Linked DNA regions of Homo sapiens: region 1 is linked to region 2. Evidence: promoter capture Hi-C in 16 types of primary human blood cells and fetal thymus (Javierre and others, 2016). All regions are on one chromosome and are shown on one strand. Each heading gives the region's core, a stretch centred on a gene start or on the middle of the fragment in contact. The rest is flanking DNA. Distances are from core to core; before and after follow the strand shown.

Region 1 (5,639 bases), core at 1,593-4,092, 150 kb before region 2:
TAGTAGTCCAGGCAAGAGATGATGTCTTTTAATGACTGCATAATAGTTCATCAAGTTAAGTTTTTATAATTCTGTTATGCATTATTTATGTTTCTAGGGATGTATATGTATTCACTGTTACTCAAAAGAAGTACATCTTTTTGTATTCTTTTTTTTTTTTTTTTTTTTTTTTTTTGGTTACTCTAATTTTTCACTAGGACAGATTCCCCGGAATAATTCTGTTGAGTCAAAGGAAATGAGTAGTTTTGGCTCCTGCTTATAAATTATTATAATGGTTGTAATCCATTCCTAGAGTTGACTTCCATGTGGTGGGCCAAATAGGAACTTTAGAATCATTTTGTAAAGTTCTAAAAAACTATCTGAGTTTTGATTGATTTTATTTTGAAATTAGCAGTAAATTATCAGAACAATGCTCACATTGTATTTATGATAACCACTCACTCAGTAACTAAATGTATCTTTCATAGATTGATGAACTCCCAGAGGGCGCTGTGAAGCCTCCAGCAAACAAGTATCCTATCTTCTTTTTTGGCACCCATGAAACGTAAGTTAGCAAAAATAGTTTCAACAGCTCTAGCTTGACTCTGCTATGCTACATTGTTATGGATGATCTCTGACATCTTACGTCTTATTAAAATCATTATAATCAGTTATATAAAATTGCCAAAGTTAATAATGTATTTTTGTTAATGTAAATAGTTTTCATGATAGAAGTCTTTATGACTAAAAGCGTATCTTTGCTTTTGAATGTCATTTGTGTTTCTGCTTAAATGTTGGTCATCACCCACAAGTCTCCTCTAGGACACTTTTAAGTCCTAGAGTGGTTTCTGTACCACTCCCAGTAATTTCTTCTATTGCTCTTATATATTTCCCTTCCAGAGAAGTTTTTTCCATTCATATTTCACAGAACAAAGTTATGTTCTCTCTGGCTCTTTCACCTTGTTGGGCCCTCAAGGAAATATACCACCTTTTTTAGGTTTTCTAACTGTATTTGTTGGTGTACTGACTACACTGATGTAATAAAGGAACCTAAAAATACAATGTCTCAAATAATATAGAAGTTTATTTCTTTCTTTTGAAATAATTCAGAGGTAGGCAGGTAGATTGGGGTGGGTAGACTACTTTGCCCTAGGGACCGGAGCTGCTTCTGTTTCTTGTCCTGTCATTAACCGCTAAAACAAAAAAACTGGCTCAGCAGCACATGTGCATCTTGCAGGCAGTGGGAAGGAGGAAAGAGAAGAGGTGAAGAACAAGTAGTTCCTTGTAAGGAAATGACAGGAAGTTACATACAGTAGATCTTCACTTAAGTTGATAGGTTCCTGGCAACTGCGACTTTAAAGGAAACATCAGACAGCAGGCTGTCAACTAACTTCTTTTTGTTCAGTGTTGTCACAGTTTCCAAAAACCTATCGACATTAAGTGTGGACTTACTGTACATCATTTACACTGGCATTCATTCCAGTGACAAGAACTTGGTGATGTGGCCACATCTAGCTACAAGGGAAGCTGAGAAACAGTCTCTAGCTGGGCAACTCTGTATCCTGCTTTAAAAATTGGAAGGAATATTCAGTATAGGAAAAAAGAAGAGCATGAATACTGTGGAATAGTTGGCAATCTTTGACACACTAGGAACGGATATGGTTATTTACAACAAAAAACAAATGGAACAAATTGGAAATGTGGAGAAAAGCTAAAAACTGTCACAAAATTTTTAAGTCTTCAAATTCAGGGTCATCACTTATGTTCATTTGAACGTTAGTAGAGCCTAGCATGAACTTTCTTAGCTTGTTGTCTCTGCCACCCAACATCTTCCTCATTCTTGTCTTGAAAGAGAGTTAGGAGAAGCCTCTCAAGACAGACTTTTTTTCGTGAGAGAAATAATTGTAATTTCTCTCAGGAAGTTTTATTTACTTTTGTATTATTTTTATGTAATAGACATTATGGACTATGCAACTGATCATGTTTTCCTCCTTAAGAGAGGTTGCTAGAAAGCTTAGAAATAAGTTTTACCTATAATAAATGTATAGGGCTTTATGATGCATATTTTTGCATTTTCCTTATTCCCGCCCCCATTTTATTTTTGTACCATTGGTTTGATTTTTTTAGAACCCATCTCCAAATGATCTGGTTGTACAGTAGTCTATATGTGATTTTTTTGCTGGTTTGATCATCCAGAGGCAGATTTAAAAATACCTGGGGGAGAATTAACTTCAAAAAACCTGTCATAACATTGATTCTACTGAACTTAGTTACTAAGTATTGGGTGTCCCTGAACCTGAGATTATACTTGCCCTGGCAAGTATGAATGTTCACCCTCTCTGAAGGCAGAAATTATGTCAGTGTTTCTTACTCTACTTACACAGTGCTTAACACAGTGCCTGGCCCATGGTAGGTGTTTAAAAAATAGCTATCAATTAAATTAAAATTAGTTAAATGATGCAGGGGAGGTATGTGAAAAGTGAGGTGAGCTTAACAAGAAGGCTACGTTTGGTTCAGCTAAAGGAGTACCCTAGGCACGACCAGAATTTTCCTCAGAACATGACTTTGAATCTGTTCTAATTCTGATGTAGGTGACTGGAGCCTCAAGTTCTTCTGCTTCTAACATAAACCCAGTAGTTTTAGTCTAGACAATTTTCAAGGAACCCTTAACATGGAAAAATATATCATCCTCAGTGCATTTAGCTTTGAAAAAATGTATTTTCTTTTCTATGCTTAAAAAATTTTAAAACATATAGCAATTAACCAATTGAGAGGGGATTTGATTTACACAATTATCTATAATCCAGAAAAAAACAGGGTTGTTTATCAAAAAATTACAACTTGTTTTAGAACAGTTCATTCAGGCTCCCTCTTGCCGGCAGTAGCTAACATGGCCAGTTGTCAGTTAAAGTCATTCCTGCGGAATGCTAGTAAAAATGTATCATTTATTCATAAAAGAATGCTTCCTGTAGCAGGAAGACGTCCATCTCATACATCCAAAAGTGGGACAAGATAAAAATAAAGAGGGCAAAAATTGTTAACTCTTTCATCAAAAAATAATGACCATTAGCCCTGACTCTTCTGGCATTATTACAGTATAGGCAGCTGAGTGCAGTGGTTCATGCCTGTAATACCAGCACTTTGGGAGGCCAAGGCTGGAGGATCACTTTAGCTCAGGAGTTCGAGACTAGCCTGGGCAATATAGTGAGATCCCGTCTCTACAAAAAAATAACATTAGCCAGGCATGGTGGCTGTAGTCCTAGCTACTCAGGAGGCTGAGGTGGGAGGATCACTTGAGCCTGGAAGCCAAAGCTACAGTGAGAGACCCTTTCTCCCCTGCCCAAAAAAATAAGTATAGGCAAGCCCTGATTAGCATCAAGTAGCTGATGTGAATACCAGGCAGCTTAGCCCACAGTTATTTCTTAAGCATAGAGTCAAAGACTGGGGAAGGTCAAAAGCTAGAGTCTAATAATTCACGACAAATTCTTCTAAAAGTGAAGTTGCCATACACAAAGTCCATTTATTGTGTTCAGTTTATCAAGCAAGACTTTGACTTTTTTTTATTAAGATGTCCAGTAATGTAATAAATTATTTCTGGATTCAATGAGGTAGAATCATGCTGACTGAGCAATTAAAGGTGAACAATAAGGAAAAGGTTGGTGCTTCTTAAAAGTTTGGTGCTTCTTAAACCGCTCTGGGGTCAGAAAGCTTACCCAGGAGTTTTAATGAACTTGAAGTTTTTGATCAGCTGCACAATGCGAGGGATCAACCCTGAGACCCAGGCAGAAAATGGAATTTACAGAGATCAATAGTAAACTGTTAACCTCTCGTCTGAAAGCTTTCAGTATCTTCTCTTTACTGATAATTTCCAAATTTACATCTCCAGCTTACACATTTCCCCTCTACTCCAGAGTCCTCTCTCCAGCTACCTGACATCTCCACTTGGATGTCTAAACTGGATTTTAAATGTAGCATTCAAAACTGAGTTTTTTGCCCCCAAATATTGTTCCCCCCCCAAAATATTTCCATTTCGGTAAATACCAACTCCTTCTTATTTCTCAGTCCAAAACCTTGGAGATGGCCAGGTGTGGTGGCTCATGGCTGTAATCCCAGCACTTTGGGAGGCTGAGGTGGGCGGATCACAAGGTCAGGAGATCAAAACCATCCTGGCCAACATGGTGAAACCCCGTCTCTATCAAAAATACAAAAATTAACTGGGTATGGTGGCATGTGCCTATAATCCCAGGTCCTCAGGAGGCTGAGGCAGAAGAATCGCTTGAACCAGGGAGTCGGAAGTTGCAGTGAGCCGAGATCGTGCCAGTGCACTCCAGCCTGGCGACAAAGTGAGACTCCGTCTCAAAAAAAAAAAAAACCTTAGAGATATCCTCAACTCCTCTACCCTTTCTCACATATGCCATATGCAGCCCATCAACAAATCTTGATGCTCTTTCTTGAGAATGAATTCAGGATCTGACCACTTCTTACCAACAGTACTGCTTACACCCTGGTTCAAGTCACCATCATTACTTCAGAAGCCTTCTAATTAGTCTCCCTGCTTCTACTGTAGTAACTAAGTCTTCAGTCTGTTTTCAGTACAGCAGCCAAAGTTATCCTATTAAGACATAAATTGCCACTTCTCTTCTCAGAACCTTTAATGGCTTCCCATCTCACTCAAAGCCTTTATAGTGGCCTTCAAGGCCCTAAATAATCTGTGCCCCTACTCTGTTAACCTGTCTCACACCAGTCGTCCTTCACTCATTTCACTCTAGCCACACTGACCTCTTCTGTTTCTCAAACTTATGAGGCACTCTTCCTCTCCCACCTGAGGGACCTTGTACTTGCTCTTTCTTCAACTTGTTCTTTTCTTCTCCAGGTAACTGCATGAGTTATTCCTTCACTTTCTTTGTTCTTTACTTAGCTATTCCCTTTGCCTTCCTTGATCTGTATATCTATAATTATAAAATCCATCTCCTATTCTTCCCATCCTTCTCTGCTTTATTTTTTTTAGCACACATACTATATATTTTATCTTTTTATTGTCCAAACCCCCACCCCTGCCACTAGAACATGTGCTCCAAGAAAACAGAGATGTTTGTCTCTTTGTTCCCTGTAGCTCCTCTGGAATAGTGCCTGGCACATTGTATTAACAAATGTTCAATCAATGTTTGTTGAATGAAGGAATGTGTGAATCTCAGTTTGAGAAGTAAGCTCTAGGGGTGTCAGCCAGAACTGTGGCCTAATGCTAAAGACTCTGATCTATTAGCCAGGCTCAGAATTTGTTCTAACTTCTTTTTTTTTCTTGGTTGTGATTAATTTAGGATGTGGTTTAAATTGGATAAAAGTCTATCTGCTTTGTCACTTCTAATTTTTTTCTTAGTGCCTCATTAAACACTAAAATGATTTTTTAATTTATAGAAATAATAGGCTGGGCACGGTGGCTTATGCCTGTAATCCCAACACTTTGGGAGGCCGAGGCAGGTGGATCACCTGAAGTCAGGAGTTCGAGACCAGCCTGACCAATGTGGCGAAACCCCGTCTCTACTAAAAATACAAAATTAGTCAGATGTGATGGAGCATGCCTGTAATCCCCTACTTGGAAGGCTGAGGCAGGAGAATCCCTTGAACCCGGGAGATGGAGGTTGCAGTAAACCGAGATCATA
Region 2 (5,288 bases), core at 1,023-3,522:
GTCCTCTCTGTTCTTTTCTTCTTTACTTCCTTCTTTACCCAGTTAGACTCTACTTTTGGTCTCCCTCAACCCCTCTCCACCTTTGGTCTTTAATAACTTTAACCATTTCATCAATAACCCTCAACCCACTTAAATATACCTGAATCAATCCAGTTGTCTGCCTTATCTTCAACTTCCTGACTGCTTTGGTAGTAGCACTGGGGCCAAAAAAAAATTTAATTAAAAAAAAAACTTCTTAGCTGGTGAATCCAGGCATCTAAAGTAACGTAACTATAGGCCAGGCGCTAGCTCACGCCTGTAATCCTAGCACTTTGGGAGGCCGAAGTGGGTGGATTGCCTGAGCTCAGGAGTTCGAGACCAGCCTGGGCGAAATGGCGAAACGCCCGTCTCTACTAAAAATACAAAAAATGGGTGTGGTGGCGCGCGCCTGTAGTCCCAGCTACTCTGGAGGCTGAGGCAGGGAGAATTGCTTGAACCTAGGAGGCGGAGGTTGCAGTGAGCCGAGATCCCGCCACTGCACTCCAGCCTGGGCGACAGGCTCTTCCCATCCCCCTGTCTCAAAAATAAACAAAAATAAAATAAGGTAACTATAGATTGGGATCATAGATGATTTCACGGTCTCCCTTAACTGTCTACCGCTGGGTGAGTTGCAATAGTCAGCCCTTTGCCATTCTCAAGAGTCCCAATATACCTTCAACACCTCCCCCGCCTTAGTTAATGAAAGAAATTCCACCTCCCATCACCAAACCTACAAACACAGCTACATGTCCACCTAAGCTTTCCCTTAGGAAGGAAGGAGTGTCTAAGGCCTCCTGTAGAGAACTCAATCTCTACTTGAGCTCAGATCCTACCTCTTCAGGAACCGTCCTCTGCTGTAACCTCTCTTCTCCTGGCTCTTTCCTACCAATCTTCAAATATGATAAAAATAAGTCTCTGAATGTCATGTGCCCCTCCAGATACCAATTGCTCCTTCACAGTGAAGTCACTGGATTATTCTCTACAATTATCTCCATTTCCTTCTCTCCACTAAAACTGCTGTAGCCCGGGTCACCACCACCACCCTGATTTCTAAATCTTGTGGCCACTTCTCAGTCGTTACATGTGACATGTTCTCTCCAGAGTGTTCATCACTGTTGATGTTCCCTCTTGAAGCGCCCTTCTTTAGCTGCCGTTACACCGTACTCCTACCTGGTCAGTGTCCTTTGGTGACTTCTCTACCTGCCCTTGCTGTTCTAACCTGGGCCCTCGTGCTCTTTACACACTCTCTCATCCATTTCCATAGCTTCAATTGCCATCTGCTTTCAGAAGATTCCAGAATCTCTATCACCAGCCTTGATTTCGCAAACTCCAGTCACATATATTCAGTTACCCCTTTAACATTTGTATTTGGATGTCCTGTGGGCATCTCAAACTCATTATGTCCAAAGCTGAACTCCTCACCTCGGCCTCCCAAACCTGTTCCTTGGGCCCCAAACCTGGGCATTTCCTTGACTTTTCCCCCTTATTCGCACATGCAGTCATTCCCAAGTTCTGATCATTTCAGTTCCTGAAGATCCTTGAAATGATCAGCGCTCCACCCTCCCTGCGGTTACTCTAGTTCAGGCCACCCTCTCCCATTTAGGGGGCGGATCTCCCTGTCTCTGGCTTTTCCTCTGTCGGCCACAGTGCAGCCGGTGTCTTTCTAAAACCCAGCAAATTGGGCTGCTAATAATCCCTTGCTTGAAAGCCTTCAGTGACTCCATGATCTTGCCTCTGCTGATTTGTTTCATGTCTCTCCATATCACATGTCGCAGTGTATTTCCTCTTCTTTTACATTGTGGGATCCGCTGCGCCTGGCACAAGGTAGGTGCGCCATCGATACGTGGAAGATTCACAAGGGCCAAGCCGCCACGAGGCTCTATATCGACTTGATGGCCACAGGCAGCGCGTGGGACTCTGCATCTGCTGCTTGGCTGTGGGAGCGAGAAGACACCTGGCCCTGTGCACTCCTTGCCGCGCTCTCCAATTCTGAGAAGTGACAATACCTTTCTTTCCCCGATTAGGAAAGAGGTGACACACCTTCCTATCAGCTGAGCAGGGTGGGCCAAGACACGGTGAGGCCTCAGCTCCGCAGCTCCACTTCCTGGGGCTCGGCCCGTTCCAGAACAAAAGAGACTCGCGCATGTTCTGCGGCCACGAGACTCGCTCCCGCCGGCCTTAAGGTGTCGCCCTCTGGCCAGAGCGGATGCGCCGGGCGGTGGGGCCGCTCCTGCCGGCTACCTGCGCAAGCGCAGAGGGCTCTTCCGGCGCCTTCCCAGGCGGGGATGCTGCGGCTCCGCAGCGGGCTGAGGCACCTTCGGGCAACACCCAATACTCGGGGCTCCGCTCGGCTTCTTTGCGCCGAGATGCCTAAGAAGGCTGGTGCGACGACCAAGGCCAGTAGCAGGTCCCGTGGCGGCAGAGGGGTGGGCCTCAGGGGTACTTGTTGAAGAGCGCGGGAGAAGCGGGGCCCGGGAGTGAGTGGAGGCACTGCCAGCGGCTTGCCGTCTCTCAGTTCCGGGGCTCAGGACAGCCGCCGCCACCCCCAGAGCTGCGGCCTGCTGCCGTCGCCCCGCCTCAGTAGGCTGCGCTGCCGTCCACCTGGTGATTTCTGAGCGCTGGGCCCGGCGGCAGCCGAGCTCTCCTTGGGCTGCGTGTGCTGACCTTTGGCCTCCTACCCGCACTCCCAGTCCAGCAATTCATGTTCCCGCAGCGGCATGACCTGCGTTTCCCCAGGAGGCTGTATTCTGCTTTCTCCTCCCTTGCTTTGGCTGATCGCACCCCTTCTGTCAAGAATACAGCACTCCCATTTCCACCATCTTTGTTTGGCCAACCCCAGTCCGTTTCTCAGACTCAGCTCAAGCACTGCCTCCTGCTGGCAGCATTCTCCAGTGCCCCAATGCTGATTTGCCTGTGGGGTAATGTTCTGTGCCTATCTCATCGGTGCACTTAGCACAGTGTATTATAATTTTGTATGTTCTTTCTCCCTCGCAGCAGTCCGAGCTCCTTGAGAGCAAGGACCATGTACCTTTTCATCTTTACATATCCATTGCCTACATATTTGTTGAACGAAAGTTCCTAGCACAGCCCCTGTCCCATAACAGGCCTTTAAATATCAAGCACTATTTTTTTTTCCTCCCTTTCCCGCAACATGCAGACATACACACTTTCACCAACATTTATTAGCTCCGACTGCATGAGATACAATGATGAATAATAAATGATCCCTGCCCCCAAGGAATTGGAAATACAAAGCAGAGGGAGGAGCAAGCATTAAGGTTTAGAAGCCAGAGTTAGGTTTTCTTGCAAGGGGGGAAAAAACACTGTTGGGTTGATGGGAACCCTTCGTGGGAAAATTGAGTAGAGCCTTGAAGGTTGTGGGAAAAGCTTTCTAGGTGGCCAGAAGTCCCTGGACACCACTGATGAGCCTAGTTTGTCTGTTAAGGGTGAAAGGGGGTAGTGGAAGAATCAAATTAAATGTGTGGGAAAATATTTTGTAACCTGTAAAGTTGTGTGGTTGTCATTTTAGGGTAAAAGCCAGAGCAAGGAACCAGAGAGACCACTTCCTCCCTTAGGTCCTGTGGCAGTTGATCCTAAAGGATGCGTCACCATAGCCATCCATGCAAAACCTGGCTCCAAACAAAATGCTGTAACAGGTATACCTGGACACTGGGGTGGGATTCAAGTGTGAATCAGGTGTCTCCTACAGCCCTCCTTTGCTTTGGTTAGCTGAAAGCTTATTCTATGACAGTTGATTTTTCACATCTGCAGTTAGAGGCTTCTCCATTTTAAAATTCTAGATTCTAATGTAAAGGTGTCTTAAAGTGAATATATCTTTAAATCATGCCAAGTTACACGAAAACCATTGTATATTTTCCTCTTTAAAAATACAGTATTTTAGAAAGGACAGTTATGGAAACTTGTGTGTAGTCTGGATTATTCTTAGTTTGTCCTGTTCCAAAACTGGAGACATTGGCCAGAGAAAGAAGAGACATTTTAGTGTAGTTTAATGATCACTGGCCTAAGGAGAGGGAGAAAACTTGAGATCTGAGACCCGTGATCAGTTCCTGTGCGAATTTGTTTTAAATCAAAACAGTATAAAACATTCATGGGTCCAGTTTTTTCATCTGTCAGATGAGATCGTTGGACTAAGTTAGAGGCTTTCAGGCTATTCTCTGGAGTGCTGGAGGTGCCTCAGGAATCAGCTTTGGGCAAGGAGGAGGCCAGGCAGACAGGGCTCCTGACTAGCTCTGTTTACATTTGTTTTACATATTGGGATTCTGGAGAAAATTGGGGGAAGGGATTCTAAAGGAAAAAAAGTTCAAAAACCATTGCTCTAAATTCTTTTGAAGGTCTTTTTCACCTCTAAAGCTCTGTATTTCAAACCATTTTTAGATTTTGAAAGGAAAACCACAACATTGACGTGCTAGACCTGGTTTATGCTGATGACCAAGTTAACTTAGCCATACCCTCCTTGGCCAGCATTTTCTAAGTAGTGGGTGTGGACACTGTCTACGTTGGAGTATTATGTTTCATTAGATCTAAAATGGGAGGCTGGATGCCATGGCTCATTTGTAAAATGGAGATAATAATGGTACTAATATCTTCATAAAGTTATTATAAGGATTAAAGAAGTTAGTATTTGTAAAGCCTTTAACACATTTGTGTGTGCTTAAAATTGGTGTATAGTAAGTGCTCTGTAAATATTTGTTAAGTAAACATTATTAAATTTTAAAAACACTCAAGATATGTGTCACATAAGAGGTGAACCTAGTCCGGGGCTCTCATTTTCCTGTTGAGGAAACCCTGCACAACCTTGTACAATCTAGTAAGCTGCCCTGTCCATACACTTCTTCAGTGACATTGATGAGGCTGAAGGCCATCTATGACTCCCTGCCTGGGGCTCTTCACATACCAAGGGCAATTTCCAGTTGCCTAAATCCAGGATATTCCCCAGGGCTCTGTAAGCCCATCTTGGTCGGCAAGATTGGGTCAATAACTTTTCTTCTCTGGATTTATTTCCTGTAATGGTAGGGCCATTTTTATCATGTTCATGTTCCTTAAATGTGATTAGTTTAATCATTCATTTCTTCATTCAACAGTTTTTAATTGAAAATCTGTGTGCCAGGCAAATGCAAAAACTCTTTTACAAAATGTCCTTGCTTCATGAAGAAAAAGAACTCCTTAAGGATAAAGTCCACACTATTTTCATTCCAGATTTGACAGCAGAGGCTGTAAATGTAGCTATTGCAGCACCTCCATCAGAGGGA

Evidence for each region. Contacts are between HindIII fragments. The CHiCAGO score rates a contact against its expected background, and 5 or more counts as called.
Region 1: a contact is called between a fragment that was not itself captured here and the fragment with the promoter of C15orf40 in region 2, in 3 of 17 cell types (megakaryocytes, endothelial precursors and erythroblasts). The highest score is 9.5, in megakaryocytes.

The regions. Positions count from the first base shown.
Region 1 is chr15:83,158,904-83,164,542 of GRCh38, reverse strand. It overlaps HDGFL3 (HDGF like 3), which reads left to right. Exons shown (of 6, transcript NM_016073.4): 2 at 468-544. Among named protein-coding and RNA genes, the nearest start is that of HDGFL3, 46 kb to the left of the region's middle. RefSeq lists an enhancer at 5,314-5,639. The HindIII fragment of the contact is 1,695 bases long and covers 1,995-3,689 here.
Region 2 is chr15:83,008,623-83,013,910 of GRCh38, reverse strand. It overlaps C15orf40 (chromosome 15 open reading frame 40), which reads left to right and starts at 2,272. Exons shown (of 4, transcript NM_144597.3): 1 at 2,272-2,414; 2 at 3,548-3,674; 3 at 5,236-5,288. The coding sequence starts at 2,304. LOC124903542 (a long non-coding RNA gene) reads right to left here and starts at 2,170. Exons shown (of 2, transcript XR_007064742.1): 1 at 852-2,170. RefSeq lists an enhancer at 2,035-2,094. The HindIII fragment of the contact is 2,628 bases long and covers 780-3,407 here.